Regions from separate parts of the Homo sapiens genome. Here region 2 is linked to region 1. The links are contacts of gene promoters, found by promoter capture Hi-C in human tissues and cell types (Jung and others, 2019). All regions are on one chromosome and are shown on one strand. Each heading gives the region's core, a stretch centred on a gene start or on the middle of the fragment in contact. The rest is flanking DNA. Distances are from core to core; before and after follow the strand shown. Region 1 holds the start of COG7 (component of oligomeric golgi complex 7). Region 2 has its middle 58 kb from the start of SCNN1B.

Region 1 (5,791 bases), core at 1,777-4,276:
AAATCCCAACCAACACCCCAACACACAAACTAGAAGACAAATTTAACAGTCAAATGGTACAAGATAAATCTATAAAAATCAATTGTTGCTGAGTGTGGTGGCTCACGCCTGTAATCCCAGCACTTTGGGAGGCTGAGGCAGGTGGATCACCTGAAGTCAGAAGTTCAAGACCAGCCTGGCCAACATGGCAAAACCTCGTCTCTACAAAAATTAGCTGGGTGTGGTGACACATGCCTGTAATCCCAGCTACTTGGGAGGCTGAGGCAGGAGAATTGCTTGAATCTGGGAGACGGAGGTTGCAGTGAGCTGAGATTGCCCTGCTGTACTCCAGCCTGTGTGACAAAGCAAGACTCCATCACACACACACACACAAAATCATTTTTCTGTAACAAGAAACTATGAAAATTAAGAAAATTCCATTCATGTTAGCATTAAAAGGAAATACTTATTTTATTTATTTATTTTTTGAGATGGAGTCTCACTCTGTCACCCAGGCTGGATAACAGTGGCCCGATCTCTGTTCACTGCAACCTTTGCCTCCCGGGTTCAAGCAGTTCTCCTGCCTCAGCCTCCTGAGTAGCTGGGATTACAGGTGCACACAACCACGCCAGGCTGTTTTTGTATTTTCAGTAGAGACGGGGTTTCACCATGTTGGGCAGGCTAGTCTTGTATGGAACTCCTGACCTTGTGATCCTCCTGCCTCGGCCTCCCAAAGTGCTGGGATTGCAGGCATGAGCCACTGCACCTAGAAAAGGAAATACTTATAAATAAATAAATTTAACAAAATAAGTGCAAGACTTGTATTATACAATGAAAACTACAAAATATTGCTGAGAGAAATTAAAGAAGATCTAAATCAGATCTAAATCCCCAGGGGTGATTCCTACTAGGGAACACTTGGCACTGTGTGGACAGATTTTTGGTTGCCACAACTTGGAGAGGATGTTGCTCCTAATGGGTAGCGGCCAGGGATGCTGCGAAATATCTTACAATGCATAGGACAGCCCCCATAACTAAAAATTATCTGGGCTCAGTAGTGCCAAGGCTGAAAAATTCCCATCTAAATAAATGAAGAGGCGTTTCATGCTATGGATTGGAACAGTCAATATTGTCATGATGGCAATTCTCCTAAAATTAATCCAACAATTCAACAGTTCAACATAATCCCTGTCAAAATCCCAGCAGGATTTTTTTTTTTTTTGGGGGGGATGGAGTCTCGGTCTGTTGCCCAGGCTGGAGTGCAGTGGCGGATCTCGGTTCACTGCAACCTCTGCCTCCTAGGTTCAAGCGATTCTCCTGCCTCTGCCTCCTGAGTGGCTGGGATTACAGGCGCGTGCCACCATGCCCAGCTAATTTTTTTATTATTAGTAGAGATGGGGTTTGACCATGTTGGTCAGGCTGGTCTCAAACTCCTGACCTCATCATCTGCCTGCCTCGGCCTCCCAAAGTGCTGGGATTACAGGCGTGAGCCACTGTGTCCTGCCTAAATTTTTAACAAGAGCAAAGTAAGAGGACTTACACTATCAGATTGCTCCCCTCGTCTCCCCTCCCTGCATTGCTCCCCTCCTCTCTCCTTCCCTCCTCTCCCCTCCCCCCAAATAACTGGGACTCCTAGCAGAAGGGTTACCCCAGTTAAAACCTACTCAACCCAGAAGAATGAGACAAACCAAGGGAGATGCCAATGAAAAACGAGTGACTATCAGGCCTGGAGATGGCAGCCAGCCACTCATACCCCAATGGCAGGCCAACCTGGAAAACTGTCCCCTGTAGGGTTTCCAAGGATGACATCTTGTCCTCCCCCTTGGGTTGGTCCCACTCTTGAAACAACATAAAAACTTAGAACCTAAAGAATACCCTCATACCTTCCCCTACCTTTTCTTCTTTTCTTTTCGAGACAGGGTCTCGCTCTGTCACCCAGGCTGGAGTGCAGTGGCGTGATCACAGCTCACTGCAGCCTCGACCTCCTGGGCTCAGGCAATCCTCTCACCCCAGCCTCTCGAGTAGCTGAGACTACAGGTGTGCGCCACCACACTCAGCTAATTTTTAATTTTTTTGCAGAGACGGGGTCTTCCTATGTTGCCCAGGCTGAGAAATTGTTTGTGATTATGGGTTATGCACAGATTTCTCAGCCGCAACACCAAAAGCATGATCCATAAAAAAAGGTGATAAGGAACTTAACAAACTTTAAAAGGTCTGCACCTCAAAACACATCATTAAGAAAATAATTAGTTAGGCCAGGCGCGGTGACTCACGCCTGTGATCCCAACACTTTGGGAGGCCGAGGCAGGCGGATCACCTGAGGTTGGGAGTTTGAGGCCAGCCTGGCCAGCGTGGTGAAACCCCATCTCTACTAATAATACAAAAAGTAGCCGGGCGTGGTGGCACGCGCCTGTAATCCCAGCTACTCGGGAGGCTGAGGCAAGACACTCGCTTGAACCTGGGAGGCGGAGGTTGCAGTGAGCCGAGATCGCGTCACTTCGCTCCAACCTGGGCGACAGAGCAAGACTCCGTCTCAGAAAAAAATAAAGAAAGAAAGAAAAAGAAAGAAATAGCCGGGCGTGTTGTCGCGCGCCTGTAGTCCCAGCTACTCTGGAGGCTGAGGTGGGAGGATCGCTGGAGCCCAGAAATTTGAGGCTGCAGTGAGCTGAGATCGTTCAATTGCCCAGGAATTTGAGGCTGTAGTGAGCAGAGATCGTTCAATTGCACTCCATTGCTGCCCACTGCGCTCCACTGTTGCCCAGGCTGTCCTAGAACTCCTGGCCTCAAGCGATTCTCCCGCGTCAGCTTCCTAAAGAGCTGGGATTACAGGCGCGAGCCACCGCGTAAATGCGCTAATGTATGTCAGGGCTTTATAGTAAGCATATAGTTTAGTCCTCGGCAAATGTTAGCAGACATGGGATATTTGTCGGTGCCGGGAGCTCTCAGTCCGGGGCGTTTTCCCACACCCACCTCTGCTCAGCGCTCCGGACGCCTGCAGTCACTATGGTAACGGCCAACGACTTCCGGAAGAAGAACGGCGGGCGGCGAGGGTCATTCCCAGCCGCAAACTGAGTGCGCTGAGCGGGGAAGCGCAAAGGGGCAAGTTACCCGTCCTGGCGTTTCTGGGGTTCGCCTCGGAGGCTAGCCTCGGTGCTCTCGCAGGCTCGCTCGCTTCTGCATCCCCGTTGCCGCCCGGAGCCAACTCTTAAGTTCTGGACGCCAGGCCTGAGGCAGTTCCGCCATGGACTTCTCCAAGTTCCTGGCAGACGACTTCGACGTGAAGGAGTGGATCAATGCGGCCTTCAGGGCCGGCTCCAAGGAGGCGGCGTCCGGGAAGGCGGATGGCCACGCAGCCACCCTGGTGATGAAGCTGCAGCTGTTCATCCAAGAGGTGAACCACGCCGTGGAGGGTGAGCCGCTCGGGGCCCTGGCCGCGGGACCCTCCCCTGCTCTCGGCTGGGCAGAGGTCACCGAACTTGCGTGAGGCACTCAGGTGGGCGGGGCACGCATGGACAGCAAATACCCTCGGCAAAAGAGCAAGCCCCGAACTCCTGATCACGTCAGCGGGAGTCTCAGCTGGGTGCCGGGCTGTCTTGAACACTTGCTAATTTTGGGTGTTGTTTTTCCTCCTCTGGCTGGGCTATAAGTTTCCTTTTTCTTTTCTTTCTTTCTCTTTGTTTTTTCTTTTGAAACAGGGTCTCTCTACAGTGGCTCGATCATAGCTCACTGCAGCCTCGAACTCCTGCACTCAAGCGATCCTCTCGCCTCTCGAGTCGCTAGGACTACAGGCGCGAGCCACCGCGCCCCACAAATTCTGTTTAAAAAAAAAATTGTAGAGATGGGATCTCACTGTGTTGCCAGGCTGGTCTCAAATTCAAATTCCTGGGCATAATGGGTTTTCCAGTCTTGGCCTCCCAAAGTACTGTGATTATACCTGTGAGCCACCACATCTGGCCTGAAGTTTCCTTTTGGAACTTAAAAGAGTGGATCTTATTGCAGTAGCTCTTCTCTAAATAATTCAATAGCAGATCTCTGGGATTCCCTTTTTATTATTATCCATAGGCACTGGAAGACAAGATGGATCTTTTTAAATGCTAGAAGTTTTAACCAGTTCTTAACATGTCTTTGTTGAGGCACCTTCCAGAATATAAGATAAAACAACTCCAGTTTCTGTTATAGTGACTTGAATCTCAGAGTCAAGAGCCCAGTGTCAAAGAAAATTGGCTTTGACTTTTTGTAATCTAGGAGCACGAGTCTGTGAGGTGTTTATTCAAAGAGTTAAAGAGCCTGTTTTGTACCAAACAATAAACTGTAAAAAGAAAAAAAAAGTGAATTTTGAGAGTATGAAAGAATAGCCAACAGATCCATATATCTGGAAAAAACGTATTATAGTATAGGTATAAGAGAATGACACAGATCTAGAAAACATTGTTTTAGTGGATTTTATTTCAGCTGAGGAAGATAGGCTGGTCTCAGTGGAGACTTAAACCTTTTTTTTTTTTTTTTTTTTGAGACAGGGTCTCATTCCTCATTCTGCTGCCCAAGCTGGAATGCAGTGATACCATCATAGTTCACTGCAGCCTCAAACTCTGGGTTCAAGCAGTCCGCTCGCCTCAGCCTCCCAAGTAACTGGAACTATAGGCATGTGCCACCATGCCTGGCTAATTAAAAAAAAAAATTTTTTTTTAGAGACAAGGTCGCACTATGTTGCCCAGGTTGATCTCAAATTTCTGACCTCAAGTGATCCTCCCATCTTGGCTTCCCAAAGCCCTAGGATTACTGGTGTGAGCCACCACGCCTGGCCTAAACCATTTGTTGAGGATAAGTTAAATTATAAAAAATAACATGCACTGGCAACCATTTCATGTAACTCCTCAACTTGACTTTTATTCACCGTGTGTTGATTCACTGTGTGTTGATTCAGTACGTACTGCACACAAGTCTCTCTCCTAGGCTCAGATGGAAAGACCAAACAGACTGCTTCCACTGGGAGTGGATAGTCCAAGAGATGTTCCCATTTTTGTTTGTTTTTTTGTTTTTTTTGAGACGAAGTCTCGCTCTTTCCCCCTGGCTGGAGTGCAGTGGCGCCATCTCAGCTCACTGCAACCTCCCCCTTCTGAGTTCAAGTTATTCTCCTGCCTCTACCTCCTGAGTAGCTGGGATTACAGGTGCGTGCCCCACCCCTGGCTAATTTTTGTATTTTTAGTAGAGATGGGGTTTCATGATGTTGGCCAGGCTGATCTTGAACTCCTGACCTCAGGTGATCCACCCACCTCGGCCTCCCAAAGTGCTGGGATTACAGGCATGAGCCACTGTGCCCGGCCAGATGTGCCCATTGTTTAAGAAAAGGTAGGGAGGGGGCTCTATTTCACTGCAGATTGTTTTCTTTCTTTCTTTTTTTTTTTGAGACAGGGTCTCACTTTGTCACCCAGGCTACAGTGCAGTGGTGTGGTCAGTGCTCACTGCAGCTTCACCTCTCGGGCTCGAGGAATTCTCCTGCCCCAGCCTCCTGAATAACTGGGACCACAGGCTTGTGCCACCATGCCAGATGGCACAATTTTTTGATTTTTTGTAGAGATGGGGTCTCACTATGTTGTCCAGGCTGGTCTCAAACTCCTGAGCTCAGGCGATCCTCCAGCCTTTGCCTCCTAAAGTGCTGGGATTACAGGCGTGAGCCACCGCGCCCAGCCCTTATTCTTTATTGTACCTTGCATCTTTTACTAATTATTGAGCATCTACTATGCATGTGTCCAGAAATGGGCAGTGGGGAGGAAAAGTTTATCTTGCTCGAGCTTGCTGCCTTTGGGGAAGA
Region 2 (5,791 bases), core at 1,776-4,275, 210 kb after region 1:
AGGGGGAGCAGGCATGTCACATGGTAAAGACGGAGCAAGAGAGTGAGGGAGGAGGTACCAGGTGCTTTTAAATAACCAGATCTCAAGTGAATTCATAGAGCAAGAACTCACTCATTACCATGAGGACAGCACCAAGCCATTCATGAGGGATGCGTTCCCATTACCCAAATACCTTCCACCAGACCCACCTCCAACACTGGAGGTCATGTTTCAGCACGAGATTTGGAGGGGACAAAACATCCAAACCTTATCAAGGAGGCACCTGCTGTCTCAAAGCCCTAATGTAGAAGTGGCATCTACTCACATTCTATTCAGAACCACCCAGGCCATACTAAACCACAAGGGAAGTGGGCTAGAAAATGAGATTCTAATCACTGCCAGCCCATAACTACTCTATTACTATGAAAGGTGAGAATGAATTTTGGTGAAAAGCTACTGGTCCCTTTCACTAAGTGGCTTAGAGACATTGAACAATATTGAGTCACAGAAAATCTCAATTTGGTATGAAAGAAGCTCTTTCTTTTTTTTTTTTTTTCAAGACAGGGTCTCACTTTGTCACCCAGTGGAGTACAGTGGTGCGATCCCAGGTTACTGCAACCTCGACCTTCCAGGTTCAAGCGATCCTCCTACCTCACCCCCGCAATGTAGCTGGGACTTGAGGCACTTGCCACCATGCCTGGCTTATTTTTCTGTATTTTTTGTAGACACGGGGTTTCGTCATGTTGCCCAGGCTGGTCTCGGAGTCCTGAGCTCAAGTAATCCACCCGCCTCAGCCCTCAAAGTGCTAGGGTAACAGGCATGAGCCATTGCGCCTAGTCTAAAGAAGGTCTTTAACACTTTTCTACTTTTGCTAGCTTTTTTTTTTTTTTTTTTTTTTGAGACCGAGTTTCACTCTTGTTGCCCAGGCTGGAGTGCAATGGCACTATCTTGGCTCATTGCAACCTCCGCCTCCCAAGTTCAAGTGATTCTTGTGCCTCAGCCTTCTGAGTAGCTGGGATTACAGGCATGTGCCACCATGCCCAGCTAATTTTGTATTTTTAGTAGAGATGGGGTTTCACCATGTTGGTCAGGCTGGTCTGGAACTCCTGACCTCAGGTGATCAGCATGCCTCGGCCTCCCAAAGTGCTGGGATTACAGGTATGAACCACCGTGTCCAGCTTTTTTTTTTTTTAAACAAAGACAACAGAGGATGGTGTTTAATAGGACTAACTAATACTGATGCTGGTTAGGACTATAACTTTCCCTTTACCATTAATGTGTTTAAATGGAAAAATTCAGTAGATGTTTTTAATGTTAAGTAATTATGCAGTGGCATATGGATATGATATACAGTTATGAGGGTGCTTTGCAAATGACTGATCTCTGGTAAATAGTGCCCCATGCTGCAGACACCAGACAGGGTTCCTGAAGCTGGGGGAAGAGTCCCAGGATGGTGGGATGGCCAAGTAAGTTGCTAGCATGGTGTGGCTCAGGCTGAGAACAGAGAGGTCCTGCTTGAGGCCTGGGCTGGTCCCAGAGCCCAGCTCCGAGGGAAATCCAAGGCCAGGCTCTATTTCTGTGTTCCCACTGGCCAGTCCTCAGGGCATGAGGAGGGGCATGTAGTCCTAGCACATGCCTGAAGTGGAGGCTGGGAAGTTTGCTGATGTCTCCTCTCTCTACTTTCCTCTTTGCCCCACTGGGATGCTCTCCAGAAGGCTGAAATCTTGGGTGCTTTTTCTGGAAGACTCTGTACCCTGGCTAAGGTCCCAGCCGGCTGGCAGCTGCCCCTTGTCGTTTGCTGCCACACTTCCTAAGGGCAAGGGAGAGAGTGGAGCTGGGCCTCCATCCTGGAACAACTGGGTGAGTCCAGACTGCGGTCCGGAGCCCACATTCTTTCTGAAAATGGTTGGCCAACTGAGGCGTTTCTGGGTATTCCATCAGGCCAGTTACAAGGAACCCAATTTGCCCAAGGGATGGAGGATCATGGGAGATTCCTTGGGAGATGAAGAGATGAAGACCCCTGGAGTATCCGATGAGCTTTGCATCCATTACTGCAGAGGGCTCCGGATGGCCAGATAGTGTGGGGATATTCACCAGTTATCAGGGAAATGCAAATTAGAACAATGAGATGGTTTTCACTCTTTGGCATGGCAACAAGTTTGAGATTCTGAAAATATCAGTGCTTTTAGGGATGTGGGAGGAATGCTACTCTCAAATACACCTAGTGGGAAAATTTCTTGGGACATTTACTTTGGAGAACAAGTTGGTACTATCCAGAAAAACCTTGATATGTTGCCCAAAAAGCTCCTATGCATATGCACAACTCTGTTCGTTATGGCACAGTTTGTAATTTAAAAAACCCGGGAGACCACCTAGAAGTCTAGCAATAAGGGAATAGATAAATAAAATGTGGCTGTGGCCATTAGAATAAATAACCCAATCTACACATATCAATATGAGAGAGCCAAGCAACAAAATATTAAGTGAAAAAAGCATGATGCAAAATGATATGTGTATTAATTATCTATTGACATATAACAAAGTATCCCAACACTTAGTGGCTTTAAGCAACAAGACACATTTATTATCTTCATCGTTTCTGTGAGTGATGAATTCAGACGTAGCTTAGTTGGGAGGTTCTGGTTGGGGGTTTCTCATAAAGTTGCCATGAAGATGTCAACTGGGGCTACTGTCATCTGAAGACTTGACTGGGGCTGGAGGATCCATTTCTCAGTTGGCTTATATAGAAGGCTGTCAAGTTGATGCTGATCACTTGTGGGAGGCCTGAGTTCCTCTCCATGTGGGCCTCCTCCACAGGGCTACTTGAGTATCCTCATGACATGGTAGCTGACTACCCCCAGAGGGAGCAGTCTGACAGAGTGCAAGATGAAAGTGACAATGTTTTTTATGACCTAACCTTGGAAGTCATACACCATCAATTCTACCATATTCTATTCATTAAGAATAAGTCACTAAGTTTGGTCCACACTTAAGGGAATAGGAACTAGACTCCTCCTTTGAAAGAAAAGAGTGCCAAAGAATTTGTGGACATAATTTAAAGCTTGCATATGTATAGTTTGATACTATGTATGTAGTTTAAAATGATATACACACATGCCTGGCTAATCAGAGGCCTTCACCAATCTGGCTATGGTGATTACTTTAGGAATGGATTCAGCATTTGGACACTGGAGATTCTTTGTTCTGGGGATGCCAAGCTTCCAGAATATGAGTCTTGGGCTGCTTAGGGTCATCTTGTTCATGGAAACTAAGAGAGACTTTCTGAAGCACTGAGAGAGAGATAGCCCTAATAAGATCATTTCACCCCCTGGATTAAGGCATGCCTAAAGGCTGATTCATCTTTCTCTGAAATTTTTAGTTATACAGTACAAAAATTTACCTTTTTAACATATAATGGCTTGGATTGGGTTGCTGTCTCTTGTCACTACAGCATTTTTGATGAATACAATAGTTATGGTGTTGGTGTTGGAGTTTAGGTCAAGGCCAAGGTTGTGGTTAGGTCTGAGGTATGGGAAAGGTTTGCAAGGAGAATTAACACTTAGGTTTTGTTTGTTTGTTTGTTTGGAGACAGGGTCTCATTCTGTCACCCAGGCTGAAGTGCAGTGGTGCAATCATAGCTCACTGCAGCCTCAAACTCTTGGCCTCAAGTCATCCTCTGTCTTAGCCTTCCAAGTAGCTGGTACTGCAGGTGCATGCCATTGTGCCTGGCTAGTTAGAAAAAAATTTTTAGGCCAGGTGCAGTGGTTCATGCTTGTAATCTCAGCACTTTGGGAGGTCAAGGTAGGAGGGTTGCTTGAGGCCAGGAGTTTGTGATCAGCCTGGGCCACATGGTGAGACCTCATCTCTGAAAAAACACAAAAAACAACAACCACAACAGAAATATTTTTTAGAGATGGGGTCTCCCTATGTTGCCCAGGCTGGTCTCAAACTCCTGGCTTCAAATTATCCTTCAAATTATCAGCTTCCTAAAGTGCTGAGATTATAAGCATAAGCCACTGCACTTGGCCAACACTTGGTTTTGACTTTGGCTTTGTTTGGCTCTCACTTGTAAATCTCTCATGAAGGTATTACTGCCTCTCCACTCCTACTGTCACTGATATAGTTGAGACCTTCAGAAACTCTTGCTTGGATCATTGCAGTAACTAACTGATCCTCTGCCACCACTGTCTTCCTTCATCTGTTATGTGCCACACTGCTCATAGATTGCGGGTTTGAAACCAATATTGTCATATTGCTCCCAGGCTCAAAAACCTTCAATGACACCAACTGTCTGGAGAATCAGACTCAAATGCATTAGCCTGACTTTCAAGTTGCCCATTATTTGGCCTTCAGTTCCTTTCCCAGCACCATGTCCCAGTGCACCTCACCACACACATGCGTATGCACACACATAGACACACACACTACATTTCATTTCCCACTTAGATTGAGGTTTCAGGGGTTAGGCATAGCATTGGGTTTAGGGTTGAATCTAAGTTTGGGTTTGTGCTAATCAGCCTTCAAGATGATCTTCAGTGATTCCTGCTTCCTGGTATTTATGCCATTGTATAATCCTCTCCTACAGTGAATAGGGCCAATCTGTGTAACCAATAGGATATTGTGGAAATGTTGGACTGTGTGTGATAGTTCGTTTTATTTATAACCTTGACTTGACCATGGGGTGCCCAGAAATTTGGCTAGACATTATTTCTGGGTGTATCTGAGAGGATGTTTCCCAATGAGATTAGCATTTGAATTGATGGACTTGACATGGTAGATTTCTCACTGCCCCACCACTGTGGATGGGGCATCATCTAATCTATTGAAGGCCTGAATAGAACAAAAAGGTGGAGGAAGGGAAAATGTGATCTCTCTGCCTGACTGTTTGAGCTAGAACATTGGTCTTCTCCTGCCTTTGGATTGGGACTTAAGTGATTGGTGCTCCTGGTACTCAGGCCTTCAGACTTGGACTGGAACTTAAACCATTGGTTCTTCTTCTGGAACTCAAACTGGAACTACACCACTAGCTTTCCTGGGTGTCCAGTTTGCAGACACACATCATAAGACTTCTCAGCCTCCAAAATCATGTAAGTCAATTCTTTACAATAAATCTCTAATGCTCCTGTTCTACTCTTTTAGGGAACCAATTATATGCACGTCCATCCCTTGAATGTCTTCTCCAATCTGCTAATCTTTTTTATTTCTCATTCATTCTCTGAGTTTTAGAATAATTTTTTCTTTTCTTCTTCTTCTTCTTCTTTTTTTTTTCTTTTTAGAGATAGGGTCTCACTCTATCACCCAGGCTGGAGTGCAGTGGCGTGATCATAGCTCGCTGCAGTCTTGGGCTCTTGGGCTCAAGCAATCCTCCCACCTCAGCCTCTTGTGTAGCTAGGACTACAGGCATGCACCACCATGTTCAGTTAATTTATATTTTTTAAATTTTTGTAAAGACAGGGTCTCACTATATAGTCCAGGCTAGTCTCAAACTCCTGTTCTCAAGTGATCCTCACACCTGAGCCTTCCAAACTGCTAGGATTACAGCCATGAGCTACTGATCTAGGCATAGAAAAAATTTTAAATCGTTTCTTCAGACTCACTGACTTAATTTCAGGCAACATCCAATCTTCTGTTAGGTACCTCTGTTGCCTTTTTAGACTCCATAGATATATTTTTATCTGTAGAATACTTTTATGTTCTAGGATTATTTTCTAAGAACTGCTTTAGAGAGTCAATAGCCTCTAATCTTATGAATATTACAAAGTAACCATTTTTTTTCTTTTAAATTTTGGCCTCTGGGCAGCAAGGGTGAGAT

Evidence for each region. Contacts are between HindIII fragments. The study calls those that stand out against the background at their distance.
Region 2: a fragment that was not itself captured here is called in contact with the fragment with the promoter of COG7 in region 1 in 2 of the 25 tissues and cell types used here (aorta and lymphoblastoid cells).

What each region holds. Positions count from the first base shown.
Region 1 is chr16:23,450,424-23,456,214 of GRCh38, reverse strand. COG7 (component of oligomeric golgi complex 7) reads left to right here and starts at 3,026. Exons shown (of 17, transcript NM_153603.4): 1 at 3,026-3,389. The coding sequence starts at 3,221. LOC124903667 (a long non-coding RNA gene) reads right to left here and starts at 3,472. Exons shown (of 2, transcript XR_007065030.1): 1 at 2,950-3,472; 2 at 426-745. RefSeq lists enhancers at 2,697-2,746, 3,037-3,366. The HindIII fragment of the contact is 22,477 bases long and covers 1-5,791 here.
Region 2 is chr16:23,241,383-23,247,173 of GRCh38, reverse strand. No RefSeq gene overlaps it. Among named protein-coding and RNA genes, the nearest start is that of SCNN1B, 58 kb to the left of the region's middle. The HindIII fragment of the contact is 3,421 bases long and covers 1,315-4,735 here.